Regions from separate parts of the Homo sapiens genome. Here region 2 is linked to region 1. Evidence: promoter capture Hi-C in human tissues and cell types (Jung and others, 2019). All regions are on one chromosome and are shown on one strand. The core of a region is centred on a gene start or on the middle of the fragment in contact, and the rest is flanking DNA. Distances in the headings are between cores, read along the strand shown.

Evidence for each region. The method cuts DNA at HindIII sites, captures the fragments that hold promoters and counts their contacts. A contact is called where the count stands out against the background at its distance.
Region 2: a contact is called between the fragment with the promoter of MICALL1 here and the fragment with the promoter of SH3BP1 in region 1, in 1 of the 25 tissues and cell types used here (lymphoblastoid cells).

Annotation. Positions count from the first base shown.
Region 1 is chr22:37,638,419-37,642,879 of GRCh38, reverse strand. It overlaps SH3BP1 (SH3 domain binding protein 1), which reads right to left and starts at 3,211. Exons shown (of 18, transcript NM_018957.6): 1 at 3,034-3,211; 2 at 1,712-1,754; 3 at 1,402-1,506; 4 at 265-341. The coding sequence starts at 3,092. It overlaps PDXP-DT (PDXP divergent transcript), which reads left to right. Exons shown (of 6, transcript NR_109952.1): 6 at 1-1,048. RefSeq lists silencers at 2,994-3,433, 3,464-3,613, 4,244-4,461. The HindIII fragment of the contact is 22,988 bases long and covers 1-4,461 here.
Region 2 is chr22:37,903,644-37,911,321 of GRCh38, reverse strand. It overlaps MICALL1 (MICAL like 1), which reads right to left and starts at 5,025. Exons shown (of 16, transcript NM_033386.4): 1 at 4,754-5,025. The coding sequence starts at 4,899. RefSeq lists enhancers at 290-1,083, 3,073-3,886, 3,887-4,702, 4,703-5,518, 5,519-6,334 and silencers at 4,473-4,582, 4,693-5,412. The HindIII fragment of the contact is 31,369 bases long and covers 1-7,678 here.

The sequences.
Region 1 (4,461 bases), core at 1,962-4,461:
CCCATGGGTCCAGGCGCCCGCTGCCCTCACCTCCACTGGAAACACTTGGTGGGGCCTCTCCTCCCTCACTTCCGGCCCCTCCTAGATATCCTTCATCTCTGCTAAGCTGAACACCCTCCCAGGCCTGGCCACCCTCACTGACCTGGGAACTGTCCCCAGCCTGGTCATTCTTCTGATGTGGATGCCCTCACCACCTGGACCCCCTCCCAGCTGAGATCACGTCTTGGTATCCCCAGGTGAGGGCTGGGCCCCGTCTGTGCTCACCCCATGCTGGAATCAGGGTCCAGCTCCTTGAAGCTCTCAGCCATCGTGGTGGACAGAGCCATGAGGGGAAGCTTCTTCTGCAGGGAGGGTGGGGCCGGCGATGAGTGTCCGTGCCTCCCTCCACCCTGCCTGAGCACCAGGCCAGCCCCTTGGGGCAGGGGAGGAGGGAACCCAGGAGGGCCACAGTCCCAGATGAGAGTGGAAACAAGATGACAAGGCGTGGTGGGGGTGACATTTCCCTGAGAGCATGGATGGAGCCCCTCTCCATCTGGCGTGCCCTTTCCTCTTCCCAGAAGCCACTTGACTGGGCAGGAAGGAATGACCAAGTCCTACTGCAGACTGGGAAACTAAGATGCAGGGAGGGCAGGGAGCTTGCCCCAGGTCACACAGGTGGAGGGAGAATGGGAGCGGGAGCTCTTTCCCCTGTCCCAGGGTATATATGGCTGACCTAGCCACCGCTGAGTTCAAACGCTCTATGGCTCCCAATTTCCTTGCCTTGGCCACACTGAATTGTCAACTGATTCCAAAACATGGCCCCACACTCCCACCCCATCTGGAGTTACGGGGAATGCCTGCTCTGGGATCAGAGACCAGGGTTCAAACCTCAGTTCTGCCACTTACTAGCTATGTGACCTTGGACAAGTGACTTTATCTCTGAGCCTCCAGTTCCTCATGTGTAAAGCAATGCCTGCCCCTAGGGTTGTGCCAGTGTTCCATGAGACAGTGCACTCATATGTTAGTAACAAGCTGGCGGTTATCAGCCAATAAACGCTGCCTCTTGATTAATAAACGTGTATCCCTCAAAAGCCAGCTCAATTGCTACCTCCTTCAGGAAACCCTCTGAGGCCGCCCCATTGACAGCCTGCTCTTGCGCACTGATTGGACAGAGAAGTTCAGGTGCTGTCAGAAGCCTGGCCTTGGCTTATGGGAACTGGTGCACAGGGAAGTGGGGTAAAGGTGATGGGGAAGGTATAGGGCCTCTTGAGTGCAGTGCCAGAGGGGCCTTGGAACAGAGCAGTCTCCATGCCCTTGGTGCCAGACACTCAGACTGGCAAGGAAACCCCAGCCCCGACCTTGCTTCCCCATTGGATGGAAGTCTCCTGCTCAGGCCCCTCCTTCCCGGGACCCCCCACTCACCACCCGCTTGTCCATGTCTGCCCCGCTCTGGCCCTGCAGACAGGCCTGCAGCCGCTTGTGGATGTTGTGGGCTGCCCGCTTGGCCGGCTCCAGCCGCTGTTCTACCTGGGAAGGAGGTATGGAGGTTAAGGATCAAGAGAGGCTGTCTCCCCCTGAGCAGGAAACTTTCTCCTGTCCCCTGGGGACCCCATGGCCAACAGCTTGAGGAATGACTCAACCCAGGCCCCTACCTGGCGTCCCCGCCCCGGCCCTCTGCTCCGAGACAGCCTGCACAGGCCTGCCTTCCCACCTGCCCGGCCCAGGCACGTACCTGCAGCAGGTCCTCACCCAGGAACTCAGCGGTCTCCGGGGTGCTGCGGGGAGTGGTGGGGGGGGGGGGGAGAGTGCTTCTGCTGAGCCTGCCTGGGTTAGAACGCCCCCTACTTCCCTTCCCCGCAGCAGGGCACCTGGACCCCAGTGCTTCCACTGTCCCTCCCAGCTGAGGCCTGCCCTGGGTGGCCCAGTTGCTTCATCCCAGTCGGAGCACATTCCATGGGGGTGGGAATAGGATACATGGGTTTTTCCTCCTCCACCCAGGGCTGTGTCCTGAGAGAGGGCGGACAGATGAAACTAAAGGGGAGGCTGAGAGACCCACCCGGGGCCCAGCTTTGGGACACAGAAGCCTCTTTTCTGCCCACTCCCAAATCCTCAGCCCACCCCGGGATGAGGAGTATTAGCTGGCCCCAAGAACGGGAAGTGCAGGAGCTCAGACTCCTAGGCACAGTCACACAGCACTCTGGACTACAGCTGTGGGCAGGGGTGCACAGGCCCTTGGCCCCCACCTGGGGACACATGGGGGATGCCAAGGCCCACTGCAAGGTGGTCTGACTGTCCAGGCTATGTAGGCATCTGTGCCAGTGTGAGACTAGAACCAGGTCTCTGGACACCCAGTCCCCTCCCTGGACCCAGAGAATGGGGAACTCCTGAGGCTGGGGGAAGAGGAGCAGAGAAGACAGGCTCTGAGAGGCTCCCCAAACTTCCGGCCTCCGTGCCACCGGCTCAGAGGCTGGGGGTGGGAGCTGGGAGACCTGGGGATATTTCCACCTGAGTCCAGGAAAAGCAGAAACGAGACAGAAGCAGGAGGCCCCTGGGCTGGGGGGAGGGGGAGGGGGAGGGACGCTGCAGGCCAGGGGCAGGCCCCTCCTCCCACCAGGCCAGGACCCATCTCCTCCCCTCGCCCCAGGTCTGTGGCCCTAATCGACCCTCCTCCCTCCCCGGCCCAGCAAGCAGAGGTGGTGAACTGTCCCATTGTCCAGAGGGGACAAGTGAGGTCAGGAGGACCATCCACTTAGAGACTCGTGGAGGCAGAGAAGTCCCAGCGTCCTAGGGCAGAGAGCATTCTCCCGCCTGAAGCCCCCTCCAATCCGGTAAGGGGGGGCATCCCTTCCCCCAAAGGCCACCCTTGCTCCTCCAGCTCTGCCCGAGAGACGGGGGCGGCGTTCAGAGAGGAGGAAGAGAGAGCAGGAGTCTGGCCGCTCAGAGGGTGGCTGCCCAGCTGTCCCCAGCCTCCCCCACCCCCGTCTCCCCCGACCCTTTTACGACCCCTCAAGTCCTGCCGGGGTAAGAGTGGGGCTGGAAGCGGGTGACACTCACCGTCCCAAGCTGCCCGTCTGGGCCAGCTGCCGCATGCGGTGCAGCTGCCTCTTCATCATCTTGGGGGCGAGCTGGGGGCTGCGGGGTCACGGCGGGGGTCGCGGGCCCGGGGAGCCCCCGGTCCAGCCTGCCTCTCCTGCGGCGCGGCTCTTGCCCCGGATGGGTGGGCGGCGCTCTCGCTTCCTGGGCCGCCGCGCGGCTCTTGCTGGCGGCCGGCTCTCTCCTCCCCCGCTCACGACTCCGCCCCCGGCCCCCAGGTCACTCCTCTCTCCAAGTTGGTTTCCTCGCTCTTCCCCGGCTTCCGGGCCCCCGGGCGACCCCCGGCCGGGCCCCCGCTGCTGTGTGTCCGCCGGCCGCGGCCGTCCACAGGTTGTGCCCGGCTCCTCCTCCCCGCAGCGCCCCGCCCAGCCCCGGTGGCGGGAAGCAGGTAAGCCCATTCCTGCCCCTGCGCCCGCAACCCGCCCCAGGCGGGGTGCCTGCCCCACCCGCAGCCTGCAGACCCGAAGTATAAATAACCTTTGCATCCCTCGCAAAGAGGAAAGGGTACCAAGCGAAAGAGGGGTAGGCCTTTCTGACCTGTCCTGGCCTCTCTGGGCCTGCCGCGGATACTGCCTTGCACTCTCTTCCGCAGAGGACCTCTGGCCCCCTGGAACTAAACCCCCCACCACTGGATGACTGGCTGGGAGCTTTGGCTTCCTGGGGCCACGGGCTGCTGTGTGGCCGTGGACAAGCCCCTGGAACTCCGGACTCGCTGTTTCTAATGGTCTGATGGGCCAGCTGTCCTGGGCCTGCCCATTCTGCAGAGTGGACAAGACACCCCTGCCAGCTCCCTTTAAGGGAGGTGCGTGCCACCCCTCAGCCACCAGGAACCCTCCCAGAGCGGTTCGCGACACCCTGTTCTCCACATCTCCTGGCAGTTTGCTCCATCTGTGAAGCCCGTCTCCTCTCATTCCTCCTGGCAAACAGCCTCAGTCCCCCTTCCTTCTTGTAGGGCAATGATGTAGGTGCTGCTCTGACTGCCCCCAAACTCAGTAGTTCTCCTCTTTGGCCCTCCACTCAACACAGAGTTAGGCATACAGTAAGTGCTCCATAACTGCTGGTTTTACAAGATGTGAGCGCCTTTAGGAAACAGTAGGCTCTCCTTACCCTGCACCCCTGTGGCATCAGGAGCCGCAGGCGTGGGGAAGAGGGGAGGGTGTGCCCCAGAGTCCTGCCACACCCTCTGCACTTTGCTTTGTTAGTTTCAGTTTAGTTTGAGACTATTTGAGCCACTACTGTGTGCCGGTGCAGACTGTGTGCCGGTGCAGACTGGGCGCCTCTCAGAGGCAGGACCTTGGCCCCACACATCTCCATACTCCCAGCACCTAGCCCAGGGCCTGGCACACTCACTGGCTGCTTCTCTCCTCCCTAATGAGGCAGGACTCATTG
Region 2 (7,678 bases), core at 3,776-6,275, 270 kb before region 1:
TTAATGGGGCCGTGAATAGAAGAACAAGTTTGAACCAGAGTGGAAATGTACATACTCCGGAGCTGCTGGCATAGAACAGCTGGTTGGCCCCACTGGGCCACTCCTGGGGCAGCCTCCATTGGGGAAGCAGTGAGGGATTTTCTAAACTAGGAAAGGTGAGAGGTGGCAGGGCCTGTCTGGGGGCCCCAGCACGGGACAGCTGGCTGGCCTGCAGGCTTTATTTATCCCCCTCCTCCCTCCCCACTCCAGGCCGCTGAAACCAGCAGAGACAGCTCAGTCTTCCCGCCGGGCAGCCTCCTGGGTGCATCCGCATGCAGCCTTGCCCTTCTATGGCTGAAAACTGCAGCCCTGACTGCCGGAGATGGGTGGGCAGAGGCAAGAGCAGGCCACGCCGCCTCTGAGGGCTGAATTCCCATGTGACCATGGGGTTGGGGGGATCAGCAGTCCTTCCAGCATTCATTGTCCCATGTGCAAATCAGGAAAAGCACTAATACCACCTCCCAAGCTGGTGGAGTCCCAGCTTGGTAAAGGGCAGGCCTCGCAGATATGAGGGAGCCAGGTAAGCACAGCCCCCTCCTCCTGCCCCCAACACTTTTCCAGGCAGGGGCCAGGGACTGTGAACCCTGGGCAGGAAAGAGTTGCTTGAGGACCTTGGAAGGGGTCTGGTGCCCCAGGGCTGGGTGGACGGGGAGAGGCAAGGTGACTATGTCTGGGCACCAGCTCCCTTTTTGCCACTCTGACCAGGCCACTTCCTTCTCCCCTGGGCTGCCTCCCTAGCTCCCCTTTTCTGCCACTGCCTCAGAGTGCGACCTTAGCAAGGTGTTTCACCTCTCGAAACCTCTGTCTCCCGGTCCGGTTCAGGACACTGCAACAGGGCGAGGAAAACACCATGGTACCCAGCCCCCAACAGAGGCTTTTTCCAAGACCAAATGAGACAAAAGCAACTTGTCTCAGCCGTTTATTTCGGTCACCCCAGAAGTGTTCCAAGAAGGCTGGGGTCACATTCTAGCTACTCTGTGCCCCCAACTCCCTACACAGTTCCCCAAATTTCGAAGATGCTCCGTAAATGTTTGTTGAATGAATCAATGTTGAAAACAGTGTGAAAACTGTAAAAAACCTTCAGGATCCTGCAGGTTTTCTTCCACCCCCATCTCTGTCCCTAATTAACATCTGTGTTTTGGTAACACATATATTTTCTGAGAGTCTTCAGAGGCCTGCGGAGTTCTACTTGGCTCTGGGGAAGATGAAGGACACAGAAATGAAACCCACATGGTCCACGCCCTCAAAGGAGCTTAAGCATGTCTGGATTTCGGGTGGTGCGGAGGGATGGCCCAGCCCCCACAACCCTCGTCCCAGCAGAGCCCTGGGCCAACACTGGGTTCACCCAGGCAGGGCCCACAGCCCCAGAAGCCTGAACCAATTTAGGAGATGATTCTTGCCCTCACTCTAGGCCACTCCTATTCTCACGGAGATCCTCCCAACCCATCACTGAGGACTTCCCTACACATTATGTGGGACCTGGGCCTCAGCTTCTCTCCTGTGCAATGCGCTGGCAATATTGCAAATGAATGCCTGGACATGATTCTGGATCTCAGAAGCGGAGCCACCCTCCCCTGCACATTTTTTCCAGCCACATCCCTCCCTTGCTTAAAACCTACGTGGTTGGCCAGGCGCGGTGGCTCACACCTATAATCCCAGCACTTTGGGAGGCCAAGGCAGGTGGATCACGAGGTCAGGAGATTGAGACCATCCTGACTAACACAGTGAAACCCCGTCTCTGCTAAAAATACAACAAATTAGCCAGGCATGGTGGCGGGCACCTGTAGTCCCAGCTACTCGGGAGGCTAAGGCAGGAGAATGGCGTGAACCCAAGAGGTGGAGCTTGCAGTGAGCAGAGATCATGCCACTGCACTCCAGCTTGGCTGACAGAGCGAGACTCCGTCTCAAAAAAAAAAACCTACGTGGCTCGGCCAGGCATGGTGGCTCACGCCTGTAATCCCAGCACTTTGGGAGGCCGAGGCAGGCGGATCACCTGAGGTCAGGAGTTCGAGACCAGCCTGGCCAACATGGTGAAACCCCATCTCTACTAAAAACTACAAAAATTAGCCAGGCATGGTGGTGCGTGCCTGTAATCCCAGCTACTTGGGAGGCTGAGGCAGGAGAATCGCTTGAATCCGGGAGGCAGAGGTTGTGGTGAGCCGAGATCACGCCACTGCACTCCAGCCTGGGTGACAGGCCTCCATCTCAAAAAAACAAAAACAAAAACAAAAAAAACCCTGCATGGTTCCCTGAGGCCCCTATCCATGCTCCTTAGCCAGCAAAAGCAGCTGTCAGCCATCTGTCCCAACTGCATCTCCCAACTCGCTACCTTGTGCTCCCCACTCAGCTACACAGCCTCCAGCTTTGCACACACCTCCCGCCCCTTGCCTTTGCTCAGATGGGGTCCCATGCCAGAACGTCCACCCAGCAGCCCTCACCTGGCTCCTGCCATCTCCTTGAAGACTATATTCTCCCTAGGAGGTCTCCCACCCCCAGCCCTCTGATAGGGTACATGGAATTGCCATCATCGTTTATACACGTTTCCCCTACAGGTGTGGGAGAGCGTGTAGGGTTGCCTGTTTTGTCGATTGGTACTTCCATTACCAGGTACAGTGTCCAGCACAGAGCAATATGACTCTACAAATACTGGTTGAATAAATGAAGAAATCAAACATTGTTATTGGGCCAGGCATGGTGGCTCATGCCTGTAATCCCAGCATTTTGGGAGGCTGAGGTAGGCAGATTACTTGAGCTCAAGAGTTCAAGACCAGCCTGGGCAACATGGTGAAAACCCATCTCTACAAATACAAACAAATTAGACAGGCGTGGTGGCGTGTGCCTGTGGTCCCAGCTACTAGGGAGGTTGAGGTGGGAGGATTGCTTGAGCCCGGGAGGTGGGGGCTGCAGTGAGCCATGACTGTGCCACTGCACTCCAGCCTGGGTGACAGAGTGAGACCCCATCTCAAAAAAATAAAAAACATTAAAAAAAAAAAAAGTAACATTAGTTACTCACAGTAACTAATGTTAAATGAATGCTTGTTATCTCATGCAATCCTCACATTTCTGTGAGCTGTGTCACATTATCAATCCCACCTCACAGATGAGGACACTGATGCCTGGAGAGAGCCCATGAGGACCCAAGGCCATGCGCCTAAGACATGGAGAAGCTAAACACAAACCAGGCGGCCTTTATTTACTTTGATGCCACCAGGCTCAGGCCCACCAAATGGCTTCACTTCACACCCAAGTCCCCTCCCACACTGGGTTTGTCCCTGCTTCCTGCCTCACTCCTGCCCCTCAAACAAAACAGAAGACCCCTTGGGCCCTCCCTTCCAATGCCCAGGTCTAACCCTGGTGCCCTTTTCCTCCATCCTTCTACCCCCTGCTCCTGGGCAACCAGGCATCAACCTTGTGCTTCCATTAGTATGGGTGTCACATGCCCCACAGCGGGCAGGGGCCCACCTACATGACCACCTCATCTTGTTCCCTTCTGTATCCACAGCCCCAAAACCCTCTCCTCCAGGGCCCAAGCCACCACCCACAGACACGGTACTGCAGGGTACATACAGGTAAACCAGGTGCACCTGCATCATGGAATCCTGAGGCAATCCCTTAGAAGCCTTCCCACATGCTGCCCTCGGACAGTGCAAATCTGGAGGTGGAACAGGCACAGAAAGCCTCCATCTGCCAGGCTGGGGGAGCCCTGGCAAGAGGGCTGCATGCGAAAGGGGTAGGGACCAGAACTCTCCTCCCTGATTCACAGGTGAGACCTGAAGTGCAAGGAATGGCACCAGATAAACTCACCCAGTGTTTTAGGAATGAAGGGACGAAAGGAGGAGAGGTTCCAGGGCTCAAGGCAGAGAGAGCAAAGACAGAGGCTCCAAGTCAACTGTTCCGGGGAGTCTGAATGCATTTTCCCATGAGAACCTCATTGGGCAGCTCTGGGCAGGAAGGGGCCATTTCACAACCTGCAGCACCCGGTTGGTGTCTATCAATCGGATCCTAGGAGTCTTCCCAACATTGCCGGCCTGTGACTCCTCTTGCGCGCCCCACCTGCGTGCCCCACTGAGGAGGGCTGCAGGGCCATCGAGCACACACCCGGGAGGCAGGGCTGCGTCCTAAGTTGGGGGGCGTGGGGAAAGCACAGGGTCTGTACATCCATTCATCCAACACCTGTTAGCCGAGGTCTCCTCTGTGCCGGGAACTGTGCTACTGTCCGGAGACAAGCTCCTATTTGGGGGTCAGAGAAGTGGGGGTTCACCTGCACACCCGGAGCAAGGGGCCACCCCGAGTGGGAAGCCTCGGGGGAGAGGGGAGGCCCGGCGAGCCCGTGGAGAAGAGTTTAGGGTAGGAGAGGCCCAGGGCCCCCAAAGAGGGCTCAACACCCCTTCAAAGAGGTCAAGGGCTTAGGGGTTCAGCGATCCTCGGCGGAAATCAGCGCTTTGTGGGCGGGGCCAGTGTCCCCGCGGAGGGACCAGCCTCGGGGGAGAGTTCGGGATCCCACGGGCGGGGTCAGGGCGGCCGGGCGGGGGAGGGGCGCCCTGGGCCGGGGTCTCAGGGACCCGCCCGGCGTCCGGGGCCGTCGGGGGGGTCGGCGTCTCCGTGTCCGGGGGCGGCGCCTGTCACCGCCCGGGCTTCGTGTTACTGAGGGGGGGCGGCGGTCGCGGCCCCAGCCCGCCCCGCGCCGCCCGCTCGCCCGGGGCCCCGCACTCACAGCAGGTCGGGCCGGTGCCGGTGCAGGATGGCGCAGAAGGCCAGGCCGTCCCGGAAGGAGCTGCTCAGGTCGCGGATCTCCACGCCGCGGTAGCCCTCGCACTGGCGGCGGCACCAGGCCAGCAGCGCGCCCCGCGGCCCAGCCATGACCCCGCGGCCCGCCCGGCTCCGGCTCTGGCTTCGGGGCCCCGGCTTGGCCGGGACGGCGGCCGCCGCGCGGGCCCGGTTTCCGGCTGCGGCTGCGGCTCCGAGCTCGGGCGCCGACCGGCAGGCGAGGGGAGGGGCGGAGGCGGGGCCGCGGTGTCCTCGCTCGGGCGCCCCGCGGCCCTGCCCTAACCTGCCCGAGCAGCGCCGCCGCGTGGCCCGGCCCGGCCGGCCGCCGCCTACTCCGCGCTGCCCGCTCGCCTCATTGTGGGCCGGTCGTGGGAGCGGGCGTCCCGCCGCCTCCGTCCGCGCCGGAGGCGCGCCCCACCCAGCAGCAGCTCCGCCTCCAGTGCGGAGCCCACCCCTACCAAGACGGGCCGGCGCCCCATCGCCCGCCCCTCGACGGCGCCGGGCTCCCGCTGCTCCACTGGGTGCCCGCGAAGCCCCCGCACCCGCCGCAAGCGGACCACTCCCCACGATGACTTCACCGCCGCGGCCGCCGCCGCGCCACCCACCGGGAGCCCTCCACCCTTTGGAGGCGGGACACCTCGTGCTCCCATCCGGCCTCCTTCCCGCTCCTAATGACCGCAAATCCCCCCTTCCACCCCTAGCTTGAAACTTTGGGGAGGCAGTTCCCCTGCAGACCTCAGAGCACCCCCCCCCGGATAGCCACCAGCTTCCCTCATCCCGGCTCCCCACCCTAAAGCACCGCTGAGCTGGAAGTTGTCATGTCCACCATCCCCTCCCCCATAGCTTGGCAGGGAGACCCATGCGCCCCTCCGCCACCTTTGGTCCAGGTGTCCCCTAGGTGATTCACTGAGCTCCCCTCAGCCCCTGTGTAAGCTCAGGGATCTCGTCCCTCCCCACTGCGGCCTGCCGGGTCCCCTCAGCCATGGTTAGTGTGGTGGTGGTTTGAGTTCCTATGGGAAGGACCTAGGCCAAGGAGGCCCCTGCCTGGGAGGCATACAGGCAGTTTGTATCTGGCCCTGGAACCTCCCCAAGGCTCATTCTCTATCTTTGCCGTCTTCAAAACCCCCGCCAGCCAACCGACCCTTCCAGCCAGCCAACCCTTCCAGCCAGCCGACCCTTCCGCAGAGGCCCCTCCTGACTCTCCCACAGATGAATCAGCCTCCATCTGCTGCAGAGGTGGTGATGTCACCCTGACCCATGCAATAGTTAGCTGGAGTGGGTATTTCGCTCCCTCCCAAGGGAAGGAACAGGGTCTTAGTCATCTTCATCACCCCTGAGCACTCAGGGGAGTGGAAAGATCAGGCATTTTGGAGCCCTATTAACCCAATCTCCAATCCTGGCTTTCCCCACTCCCTTAGTCATGTGATCTTGTGCCTCCCTGGACCTCAGTTTCCACGACTTAAAAATGGAGATAATACCTGCTTTACAAGGTGGCTGAGAGGATTAAGATGTAAAGTGCCTTACCCTTTAGTTATCACTCATAAATTCTATTGACTCCTGGTACTTGGTAAACATGATGAAATGGACTGAAATATTTTGTACCCAGATTGTCATCTGGGCCATTCTGGGTAAATTATCAAGGAGAGAGGCCGACTTAGGGAATTCTACCTCTTCAAAGTCCACTGAGTCCCAGTCCAGAATACTGGCCCAGGGCCTGGAGAACCCAGCTTGCCAATCTGGGCTGGCCTAACACTCCTGCAACTGGAAGGCCGCCATCTTGGCTCAGTATATGGACTCTCAGGCCACCTAGGAAGAGCATGGCCAGAGTGCCTGGCTAGCCCTCTGGACTTCTCACCAGCCCTGAGCTGCCAACTCCTGCCCTGTCCCCTGTGGGATAACAGTGGCAGGAAAGCAGGATTCCGGATGCTTTTTATGAAATCAGGGACTTGGGTTCAGGATCCTGACACCAGCATCCACCTAGGCCTTCAAAGACCACCCAGGACTCTCATTAAAACCTAAGGGGGGCGGGGTTGGGCACCATGGCTCATACCTGTAATCCCAGCATTTTGGGAGGCCGAGGCAGGTGGATCACCTGAGGTCAAGAGCTTGAGAACAGCCTGGCCAACATAGTGAAACCCCGTCTGTACTAAAAATACAAAAAATTGGGCCAGGCGCGGTGGCTCACTGTAATCCCAGCACTTTGGGAGGCCAAGGTGGGCGGATCATGAGGTCAGGAGTTCAAGACCAGCCTGGCTAAGATGGTGAAAGCCCGTGTCTACTAAAAATAAAAAAATTAGCCAGGCGTGGTGGCACGTGCCTATAGTCCCAGCTACTCGAGAGGCTGAGGCAGGACAATCGCTTGAACCTGGGAGGCGGAGGTTGCAGTGAGCCAAGATCACGCCACTGTACTCCAACCTGGGGGACACAGCGAGACTCCATCTCAAAGATGGTGGGTTTTTTTGGCTCACGCCTGTAATCCCAGCACTTTGGGAGGCCAAGGCAGGCAGATCACGAGGTCAGGAGATCGAGACCAGCCTGGCTAACACGGTGAAACCTCATCTCTACTAAAAATACAAAAAATTAGCTGGGCGTGGTGGCACACACCTGTAATCCCAGCAGGAGAATGGCTTGAACCCGGGAGGTGGAGGACGCAGTGAGCTGAGATCGCACCACTGCACTCCAGCCTGGGCAACAGAGTGAGATTCCATTTAAAAAACAAAAAACCAAAAACAAACAAAAGAAACCAGGAGGGATTATAGCCCTGTCCTCACTAGCCTAAAGGGCTCCCTTTAGGTCCCTGAAGACAGCTCCATATCTGATCCTGTTGCCATACTAATAGCTTACACAGCACAGCCTGGTCACCCCCATTAGC